Linked DNA regions of Homo sapiens: regions 2 and 3 are each linked to region 1. The links are contacts of gene promoters, found by promoter capture Hi-C in human tissues and cell types (Jung and others, 2019). All regions are on one chromosome and are shown on one strand. The core of a region is centred on a gene start or on the middle of the fragment in contact, and the rest is flanking DNA. Distances in the headings are between cores, read along the strand shown.

Region 1 (3,383 bases), core at 465-2,964:
AGGCATGTAGAAATGGTTTTACACAAGAGTTACACACTGATTCCATATACAATTATCGACTACCTCATCGTGTGTGAAACACCTCAAGGTATTAATACTAAACAATTTAAGTGATCAGGTTGTAAAAGCTAAGGTCTTCCATTAACAAAATTTTTAAAAGGTGACTCAAGAGACTAAGTTCTCATCAATATTGTGTTATTATAGACTCAAAACAGTGTTACAAGATGCAAAATTTTATCTTGAGATGCAAACATCATGTGGCTTGGGGTACTTATTCTGTGAAACTAAGGCTTCTTTTTAAGTACTAAGCATACGGCACCATCTCTTAAGTCTAGGAAGATTGATTCCTCAAAGTATTATAGCATCTCCATGATGTCCCAAATATAGTGAAAATGGAAATGCATACAAAATGAAAGGAGACTTGAAAAATTAGAAATTTTTCTACAAAGCATTATTCAATCATATGTAAGGGGATATATTTTAGGGTACACTATACATAGAAATCTGTGATTTCCATATAATACAATAAAAATGATTCTATTTCCTTGCTGTTTTCAATTTACTTCCCTACCTACATTCTTCAGCTTGATTTTCACAATAATCCCATGCAATGCACAAGGGAGTTGATGTTGTCCCATTTTCACACATTAGAAATTGAGGTTTAGGGACAGTTACGCAAGGCCTCAGCAAATAATAACAGCCAGGAATCCAGGCCTTCTCTCAATCAGCACTTCCCACCATGAATTCAGAATAAAAACCAACCCCCACATTTCATGAAGTTGACTGTGGGTCCTGCAAATGTCATAGCAAAATAGCAGAGGAGTAATAGGTAGCTTTTGTTAGCAACACAAACCGTGTAGCCTCTGGTTAGAAGAGTGGGCAAAGAATCATAAAGGTTTCTTCAGTCACATAATGTGAACATCCATGGAATTTCTGAGCACCTGCAAGGAAATTCCAAAACGGAGCGAAAGGGAAAAAGTGTTCCGTAGAGTTCCTAATAAAACTTAAAGAGCTCCGCTAACTCTTCAACTGCAATCAGTTAACCCAAGTGAAGTCATGTATACTGCGCCCAGAGCCCCCTAAAAGAAGCAACACATTGATGCACCTTCTTAAGACCAACAACTTTCGCGTTTGACATTTTTCTCCTCTAAAAACCCGTACTCTCCTGGGGCAGGGGGTCGAGTATTTCTAAGGATGACCGTTTTGAACAGCCTGCTTTCACAGGCATCCATAATTCAAGTGAGAGTGAACCATCCTGCCCTGGCAAGGTACCTGGCAGGGGCGGCTGTGTAGGGCACTTGCAAAGGCTGCGGAGGAGAGCGCGCGGGCGAAGAAGCACTCCCGGACCATGCCTCTCTCCGGTGCCCGGTGCTGACTGCGCTGAGAGCGCAGGAGCTCGGCGCCGCCCTCCCCGTACTCCCAGCCCTCCCGGGCGCCGGGGCCTGGCCGCGGACCTACCAGCGAGAGTACTTTATAGGTGTTGGGGTCCTTGGCAGTGCGGGCGCGCGCCGCCTTCTCCAGCGGCTCCTCCCCCACGTCCATAGGGGCCAGCAAGGACGCGGCCGCCTGCGGGTCCCCGGGCGCCTCGGCAGCGTGGCTGCGGCCCCGATCGCGGCCGTTCCCCGCCGGGCCCTCCCGGGGAGCGCGCCCGCCCTCGCCGCCGCGGCTCCCGCCCCCCGCGCAGCCGTCGCGCTCCATCGTGGCCCCGGCCGCTCCGGCCCCGCTGCCCGGCCGCGCCTTTAATAGGCCCCGCGCCGCCCGCCCCGCCCCGCCCCTCCCCGCCGCGCCCGCCCCTCGCGGTCAGATCCTTGGCTCCCCGCCCTACACCCGGCTCTCGCAGTCAGGGCAAAGCGACTCAACGCCCCGGATTATTTGGCTTCCTGTCTGATTTCGGGCACTCTGTGTGTCGGTTATTTTGGGTCCCTTACGTGGGCGTGTCTTAAACTTCCCCCCAAGCCGTCCCCTCCCCGCGCCCCGGCCACCCTCCCGACACTTGCAGGAATCGCCCTGCGTGGCCTCGCGGCGCGGGCTGGGCTGGAATTGCAGCGTGTGGTCTGCAGAGGGCATGAGATCATGGGGCCCCAAAATAGAGCGGGGAGGAGGAGAAGGATGCAGCCGCCGATGCCGGTCCGGCTTCTCAAAGGCGGGAGAGAGTGGAGTCTTGGGGTCGACCTGTGAGTTTCTGGATGGAAATGCAAATGAACCATGGAGGAAGGCGACTTTCTGTTTCTCCCCCTCTGCGCCCCGTCCCCCACTACCTACGGTACTCTGAGAGAGAAATCGTCCACTTAAAATACGTGGGTTCACATGTACTGAACACACGTAAGGGATATTTCGATTCCCACGGTTTTATGTGGTTTCTGGAGTCTTCTCGCTATTGTTTGTATGTATATTTGCTTATTTTTCTAGACTTTCTGTATTGAAGGTTTCAGGAGTTGGCGTTGCCCTCTCCTGAGGTTGACACTGATACCTAGCTATATCAAAAGTGTTAATGCAATCTGAAATACTTTGATAAGCCTTATTTTTCAACTAGGACGCTAACAGTGAGCTGATTCTTGGTGGGTTTTGTTTTACCTTTGATTCTGGAACTTGTACATTTTCTGGCTCATCACTTAGCAAAATCACCAGTGTGTAGTGAAGTGAGACAGAGGGAAACCAGTGACTTCGAACTACTTTGCAATACCCAGGACTGACTTCAGGTACCAAGGAAAACAATTAATTTTCAATACATTTTGAATACATGAATATATACAAGTGTTTACAAATGAGAATGAATGTTTAACAAATATAAAATGCATGTTATCCCTTTAAAATAGTCAACTTGGGATGCTCTTCATTTATACTGACTCATCCATCCACCCATCCATTTATTCATCAAGTAATGAATCCTTCAACTCAATCTTTTGGCCTCCAACTATGCATACCATATAAAAAATGAATTAAAATGTATCTTTCCTTAAGTGTGGTGGAAGCGGGGGTGGGGGGGTAGGACCAACTCGTAAACAAAATAATTAAAACCTAAGTCATATATGCAGAATAGAGTCACACATAGGATATTGATACAGGAGATAGAAATTATTTAGGCAGATAGTATGAGCAAAAGAGCCCTCGGCAGAACTTACCTTCTAACAAAAAGCAGCCCAAGAAATCACTTCCTTTCTAACAAAGAGCAACCTGGAAGATTGGGCTGCAAACATAGGTAAGGAAACTGGAAGCTTGCACGGGAGATGCCGGCAGCGGCACAGACAGAAGGGGCTACTGGGGCCAGGCATGTCCACCATGGGGGTTCCACCTCCCCTCTTTTTTACCACATGCACAGTAAGAAGGAAATAAGCAACACGGAGTAGCTACCTGCCTATATAGTAGAAGATTGGGGCCGGGGC
Region 2 (3,356 bases), core at 339-2,838, 360 kb before region 1:
CTATTATCTCTGGGTGGTAAAAATCCAAAGGACTATTCATTTATTTATTGCCTGTTACTCATTTTGTATTATTTCTACAATGAACTGAAATTCACTTCAAACAGAAAAAGTTAAAAATATTTTGAAAGGAGTTGTCCAGCAAGAATATAGCAGAAGAAAGGAAATATCTGTATTTTGGCAGCTAGAAAAGGAACATAAATTGTTGTAATCCCTGGTGATTAAAAAAATACAATCCTTAATGTAAACCTAGGTGCTGACATTAAAATAGGAAAGAGATAAAAATGACATAAAACTAGAAAGGCAAGTGACTGGCAGAAAAAATAAATCCAGATGCAAAATTACTTACCAGAAAAATTCTCAGATTATATAATCAAACAAAAATTCAAATAATATCTTGCTTTTATTATTTATTTTTATGTCTTCCTATATGCAAGGATATATTCAATCAAACAAACAGTATTATAACAAGAAATTCTCAGTTCCATTCATTAGATTTCAATAGCTGAGTTTCTCCCAGAATCCTATCTGGAATAACCTCAGTCATTACCATACCATACAGACAGATAGATTTCCCTGGGGCTTTTGGTGGGGATTCTTTTATTCTGACAGCACTTTGAAGGATTTGAGATGGAGAACGCTGTGCCGTTGCCTTTGCACATCTTCCAGACAGTGGAGAATGCGTTTAGGGGCAGCAGATTGGAGTTCATCTTTTGGGGGCCTGTGAAAATATTTTTGGCCTTTGTAGATTGGTTGAACTAAAAGGGAAAAAAAAATACCTTAAATCATTGGATTGGTATACACTACCAATACTCTACTCATGTTAGAAGTAACACACACACAAATTAGTTTATGTAACTCCAAGAATGTAAGGTAGATGTTTCATCTTTTAGGAAAACAGCACCTCCTAAAACAATTATTTTATTTCATTCTTGGGGTTGTTGCTAATGGCAACAGAAAGAATGCACTGGAGTGTCATAATAATCCTCCATTAAATCCCTACTGTTTAAATTTTAATGCTATAATTCAAGAGCTGACAAAAGCCCATTGAGTTTGTCTATGGGGAGGAAAACAGGCAGGCCCATTTTCTCAGGGGTGATGCTATAGCAACATGGAATGAATTTGGGGTCAGGGAACAAGCAGTCTCCAAGCTTTGTTTGCATTTCCTGACTAAAAGTAGAATCTAACATTATAAATTTTACCCAAATAAGTATTTATTTTGAATAGCAGGAAGATAGCTCACTTTGTACTGCTGTTTACATTGAAAACAGAGAGAAGGTAACAAAACCAGAACTGGAAGAAAGACATGCCGACAAACATGTTATGAAATGACTATTGAAGTGACCACTTTAGAAACCCCTAGAGCCTCTCTGCGTTTGCTTGACACCCAACCCCTCTCCCGTGGACAAGCAATGCTTTAGAACATGGAAAAGTATTAAATTTGCAAAATGCCTTTTTAAAAGAGAGAGACAAAGGAAGTCTGATCAACAATTCCTGAATGTGACCCCTTACAGTCATGCAAGACATGGCAAAGACGGGTGTTGTTGATTTTGTCTAGCTCTTTATAATGGCACTTTTGTTTTAGTGGGAGAATTTATTTCTACCAGAATAAACAAATACACCTGAATCACAATTGCCTATTGTGCAGCAGAAGGCCAAGAAAAACCCTACCCAATTCCCACTAGTTTCTGCTGCCAACTTTTCTTTCCTCAGGCATCTGTGTTTTCACTTTTGGTTTGAGTGTTGAATATTAGCATATTGAGTCAGTGTTCAATAGCATAAAATATTACATTTTGGGTGGTTATCCAATAAGATCTATCTAGTTATAGACTCTATTTATATGGCTTGCAATATACAAAAAAGAAGACTGTTAGGTTTTCAAATGCTAAGTCATAGGTGAAAATATAAATATCTGTAAACCTTGTAGCTCAACAAAACTCAAAGCTGTTTCTTCTTTTTTATTTCCTCTCTCAGACCCTTGCTGTCTCACCTTGACAATGAAAAACTCTCACCCCTCCCAAACCTCTGATGACCTCTAGTACCCATCCTTTATAATTCATCCTAAATATAATGGCAATATTAATTATCCTCTTAATAACAAAATCCCTCTTCTATTAAAAATCTTTGATGTTTTAAAATAAAATTCACACTTCTACATATTTACTCTGCTATTACAAGTAAGTCAAACTGTATAACTTGTTGTTCCATTTATATATCTTGCTTACACTTTTCTCACGGTATATTTACTTAGATGCTGTGTAGAATTTCCTCATCAATATTCTATTCATCTTTCAAACCCAGTTTATATGTCACCTTTTCCATAAAGTTTTTCTAGATCACTCCTTCTGGAAAAGATTTCTTTCCTTTTCTCACTCTAAGCTCACATGGTCCCTGTAGAATTATCTTTGGGTCATTATTTCATATTTTCTAATGAACTCTGTTACTATTATCCCACAAGGACAGAGACTATATATTTAGTTATTTTTCTTTCACTCATTTTACTCTTAGAAAGAAAAGTTTTTTAATAAAAGTATTCTCTAAGCTGTATTGCTTACCTGGTTTTGCCTCCTAGAAACACAAAGCAGATTACATTCAAGTTATAATTATTATCAACAAAAGGATTTGTAGAATAAAACTTAAAGCTATAGAATAAAAAATATTAAGTGATATGTTATGATCAAGTACTAGTGCCTTAAATAAAAGAATGGTTTAGCATAAAAAGAAAAATAAAGGATGGGTTATTCTGCATAGACAACCCTAATATCTGAGTAGTTTATCATAACAATTAAGTATGTGCTCATGTTACTCATTCAATGAACACTGGCAATAAGACTTTGCTCATCACAGTCACTAAGGGATCCAGACTGACAGAAGAGACATCTCTATACATATTTACATAGTCACTGTGTCAGAAAAAGGGAAATTGGTGACACATACCATGCTACCTCTGAAAATTTCTTCCCAGAAGTAGCACATTTTTTCTGTTCATACTTTATACATCAGAGCAAGTCACATGGCCAACCTCACTTCCAGGGGACAAAGAAGTGAAATTCCACATGTGTTCAGACACAGAGACAATTTGAAATACGTGGAGAATAGCACTAGTAATTATTTTTCCACATTTTCCCCCCCAGTAGTTAGGGGAAAAAATAAATTTCAAAATCTATATCAAAATAGCAAAATACTCAAAATTAGGAAACTCCCTGAAATCATTTGAACATATATTTCAATAACCTTAACAAACAGCATCCTTAATCATGAAATTTGAGACTTTTTTTTTCTCTTAAGATACATTAAATACAAGGATAAATTAAATACAAGGATATTATCATTGCTACTGAACCATATAGGCTGCAAGT
Region 3 (3,389 bases), core at 495-2,994, 510 kb before region 1:
TATTGTCATACTGGATCCATTACCACATTATAGAAATTTTTATGCACTGTTTGTTCTATTTGATTACTTTTAACTGGGGAGACCAAGTAACCTTTTTGATTACTATGTCCAGAGTCCCCAAGACCACCCTCAGGTTCTGTGATTTGCAAGGAGTACCTACAGTACTCAGCAAATAGTTGTATTCATGGAAAACATGAATATGGTGAAAGCATGCAAAGCAGAAAGAACAAAAGGAAAAGCTACATGAAGCAAAGTCTAGAGGAAACCAGGCGCAAGCTTCCAAGAGCCCTCTTCCAGTGGAGTCACACAGAATGCACCAAATTACACCATCATCAAATTGTGACAACATGTATGGAATGTTGTCTATTGGAGAAGCTCATCACAGATTCAGTGCCCAGAGTTTTTTGGAGGAACTAGTCATATAGGTGGTCTCTGCCTACCACTTACTAAAATTCCATACTTCCAGATGGAAAGCAGTTGTTCAGCATAAACTGCATTGTTTGCACAGTATAGGCACAATGAGTCACTCTTATCATTAGAGAAAGTTTATGTCAATATAGGAAATCGTTTACTATTTAAGTTTCCAGGCACCTGCCAAGGATTATCCTTGCAAGCAGGCCTTTCTGAGGTGGGCCTATTATGTTAACTCTTTAGGTATAATTGTTCTCTTTCGGTACAATTATAGGAGCTATTTAAGATATAATAAACAAGATTCATATTTTCCTTGCCCTCTTGAGATTGTATTCTGGAGTGAGGGAGAGGTAATAAACAAAAAAAGATATTTTAAATAGTAATAGATGTTATGAAGACAAAACAGTGAAGGAAGTATGTAGTTGTTGTCAACAGGATAAAGAAAGCCTCTCTGGGTTGGTGATATCTGAGCAGCGACCTCCGTGATAAGGAGCCAGCTATAGAGATATGCAAATTCTGCACAGGAAAGAGCCAGTGTAATGAATGACCCTGTGGTTAGTCTGAACCTACCGTGTTTGTGGAGCAGCAAGAGAGTGCATTTGGCTGCAGAAGAGTGAAGTATGGTAGAGAATAAGTGAGGACACATGAGAGCAGGTGGGACCAGATGATTTAGGACTTTATGGGCAACATAAGGCCTTGGGGCTTTAAGTGCAAAGGGAAGCAATTAAAGGATATAAATAAAGTCAATTTGGCTACTATACTGGGAAAGGACTCTAGGAGGGCTAGACTGGAAGGAATATCAATCAGGAAACTATTGTGATTGTCTAGTTGAGGGATGAAGGTCACTTGTGCCAAGGTGGTGACACCAAGTTGATGAGACACATTCCATTCAGGTTACTTTTTGAAAGGAGCACCCACAGGCTTGTTGATCAATGGCATCTCATGGAGGCAGTGAGGGATAGAGCAGAGTAAAGGCTCAGTGATGGTGTGAATGGTGTTAGGGGAACATGCTGAGGATGATATTGAGAATTCTGTTTTGGATATATTAAGGTTGATGTATCTATTCTTACTGATGTCAGTGAGAAGAATTAGAATGGCTGGTGGAAATTTGGGGATGGCTGAATTTGTTTTAATATAGAGAAGAATTTTCTAATGATCACTACTATTCAAAATGAAAGGGACTGACGTAATTATGTAATTAGAGAAAATATACACATAGAGGTTTTGTTTTTGTTTTTGTTTTTGTTTTTTTGAGACAGAGTTTCGCTCTTGTCACCCAGGCTGGAGTGCAGTGACGCGATCTCAGCTCACTGCAACCTCTGCCTCCTGGGTTCAAGTGATTCTCCTGCCTCAGCCTCCCAAGTAGCTGGGATTACAGGCGCTCGCCACCACGCCCAGCTAATATTTTGTATTTTTAGTAGAGACGGGGTTTCTCCATGTTGGGCAGGCTGGTCTCGAACTCCTGACCTCAGGTGATCCACCCGCCTCGGCCTCCCAAAGTGCTGGGATTACAGGCATGAACCACCATGCCTAGCCACACATAGAGTTTTGAGACATGTATTTAAGGAGAGAGTGAAAAAACATTCAGTGAGGATATGGTAAAATGCAGATGATGAAGGAGAATAGAAATATGGTCAAGTTTTTGTGCCTAAATATTACAGGATTATAAATTATGAACTGAGACCCACTCCTCTTTTTGAATTAAATTTATGATTCATAGATAGGTTTTACTGAATTTTTTTGCAAACAGCAAAATGACCACTAGAAGAAATGCCTATATCTAATAAAATACAAATAACAAAATGCTTACATAAATTGGTTTATAGTTTACTAAGTATTTTCATATGCATGATTTTATAATTCATTTTTACACAATTCCAACAGGTAGAGCAAGACATGCAATCCCGGTTTTATAGGGGAGGAAATAGAAACCAAGAGATTAAGAAATTATTCAACATTATATAGTACATAATAAAAGGGAGAGTTGGGGTTTGCATCTAGTCTCTGATCTCTTTCTCCCCATACAACATGCACATATAGGCCAATATATAAATATACATAAATATATAACAAGTAAATAATTACATATGTAAACAAATTAAAACAACAAAAATCCAAGCATCACATAAAATATCATTTTAAAAACACTAGGATGTAGTCTTGGTTTTCAAATATTGATGTTATATTGTTCCTTACTTAGCCTTGAGTAGTCTTTTTCTCATTTAGAATATTTTTTACATATTGAATGGAAATTTTCTAATCGATGGTTAATTTGAGAGAATGTTAAAAACAAATGGATATTAAAAGCTGTATGTTTGCAAGATGATTTAAATGCATTCTATGGCCTATTTTTTTTTTTTAAGTTTAAATGGTATGAAGCCTCTAAAAATGTTCGGCTCTCCTGTTTCCCAATGAGCTCCACCAGTGTCCATACCTTTGGTCTCCCTCAGGAAATACTCAAGTTGGGTTTTCATAATTTGGAAAGACAGGGAGAATTGCTTTACAGAACAAGGCTAGTTTTGAGATGTCATTCTCCCCTGCCAAAAAAAAGAAAAAAGAAAAAAAAAAAGGACAAAACCCATTTAACTTCATGGTTAAATTTATTCCTCAAAAATATGAGCACAAAAGAGCCTCTATTTAAAAATACATGTTTAGACTTTAAATTAGACATTAAATCTAGTTCATCACCACAGTGACATAAGTGATAGTGAAGGCCAAACTAACAAGGTGCTGGCTCAAACATCAGAACAAAAAATGGCTTAGGTGCTTTTTTTCTGTTTTGCTTAGAAGAATATTACCAATTGGTATTCAGCATATAATACTAAAAAGGAATATCATATAACATATGAACAAAACTCTTCTATTCTGTGCTTTTCATATAATGATTAATCAGGTTCTATATTTTATTTTAAACATTCTATAGCAATCCTAGGAAGGATTGATAGAAAAAATGAGACAACTATGTCTTGTCTCAATTT

The links. Contacts are between HindIII fragments. The study calls those that stand out against the background at their distance.
Region 2: a fragment that was not itself captured here is called in contact with the fragment with the promoter of ENPP1 in region 1 in 4 of the 25 tissues and cell types used here (aorta, bladder, hippocampus and 1 more).
Region 3: a contact is called between a fragment that was not itself captured here and the fragment with the promoter of ENPP1 in region 1, in 1 of the 25 tissues and cell types used here (IMR-90 fibroblasts).

The regions. Positions count from the first base shown.
Region 1 is chr6:131,806,351-131,809,733 of GRCh38, reverse strand. ENPP1 (ectonucleotide pyrophosphatase/phosphodiesterase 1) reads right to left here and starts at 1,714. Exons shown (of 25, transcript NM_006208.3): 1 at 1,459-1,714. The coding sequence starts at 1,698. The HindIII fragment of the contact is 10,154 bases long and covers 1-3,383 here.
Region 2 is chr6:132,166,400-132,169,755 of GRCh38, reverse strand. It overlaps LINC01013 (long intergenic non-protein coding RNA 1013), which reads right to left. Exons shown (of 6, transcript NR_187602.1): 6 at 382-718. Among named protein-coding and RNA genes, the nearest start is that of LINC01013, 36 kb to the right of the region's middle. The HindIII fragment of the contact is 7,965 bases long and covers 1-3,356 here.
Region 3 is chr6:132,312,190-132,315,578 of GRCh38, reverse strand. All of the region lies in intron 10 of MOXD1 (monooxygenase DBH like 1), which reads left to right. Among named protein-coding and RNA genes, the nearest start is that of MOXD1, 88 kb to the left of the region's middle. The HindIII fragment of the contact is 5,602 bases long and covers 1-3,389 here.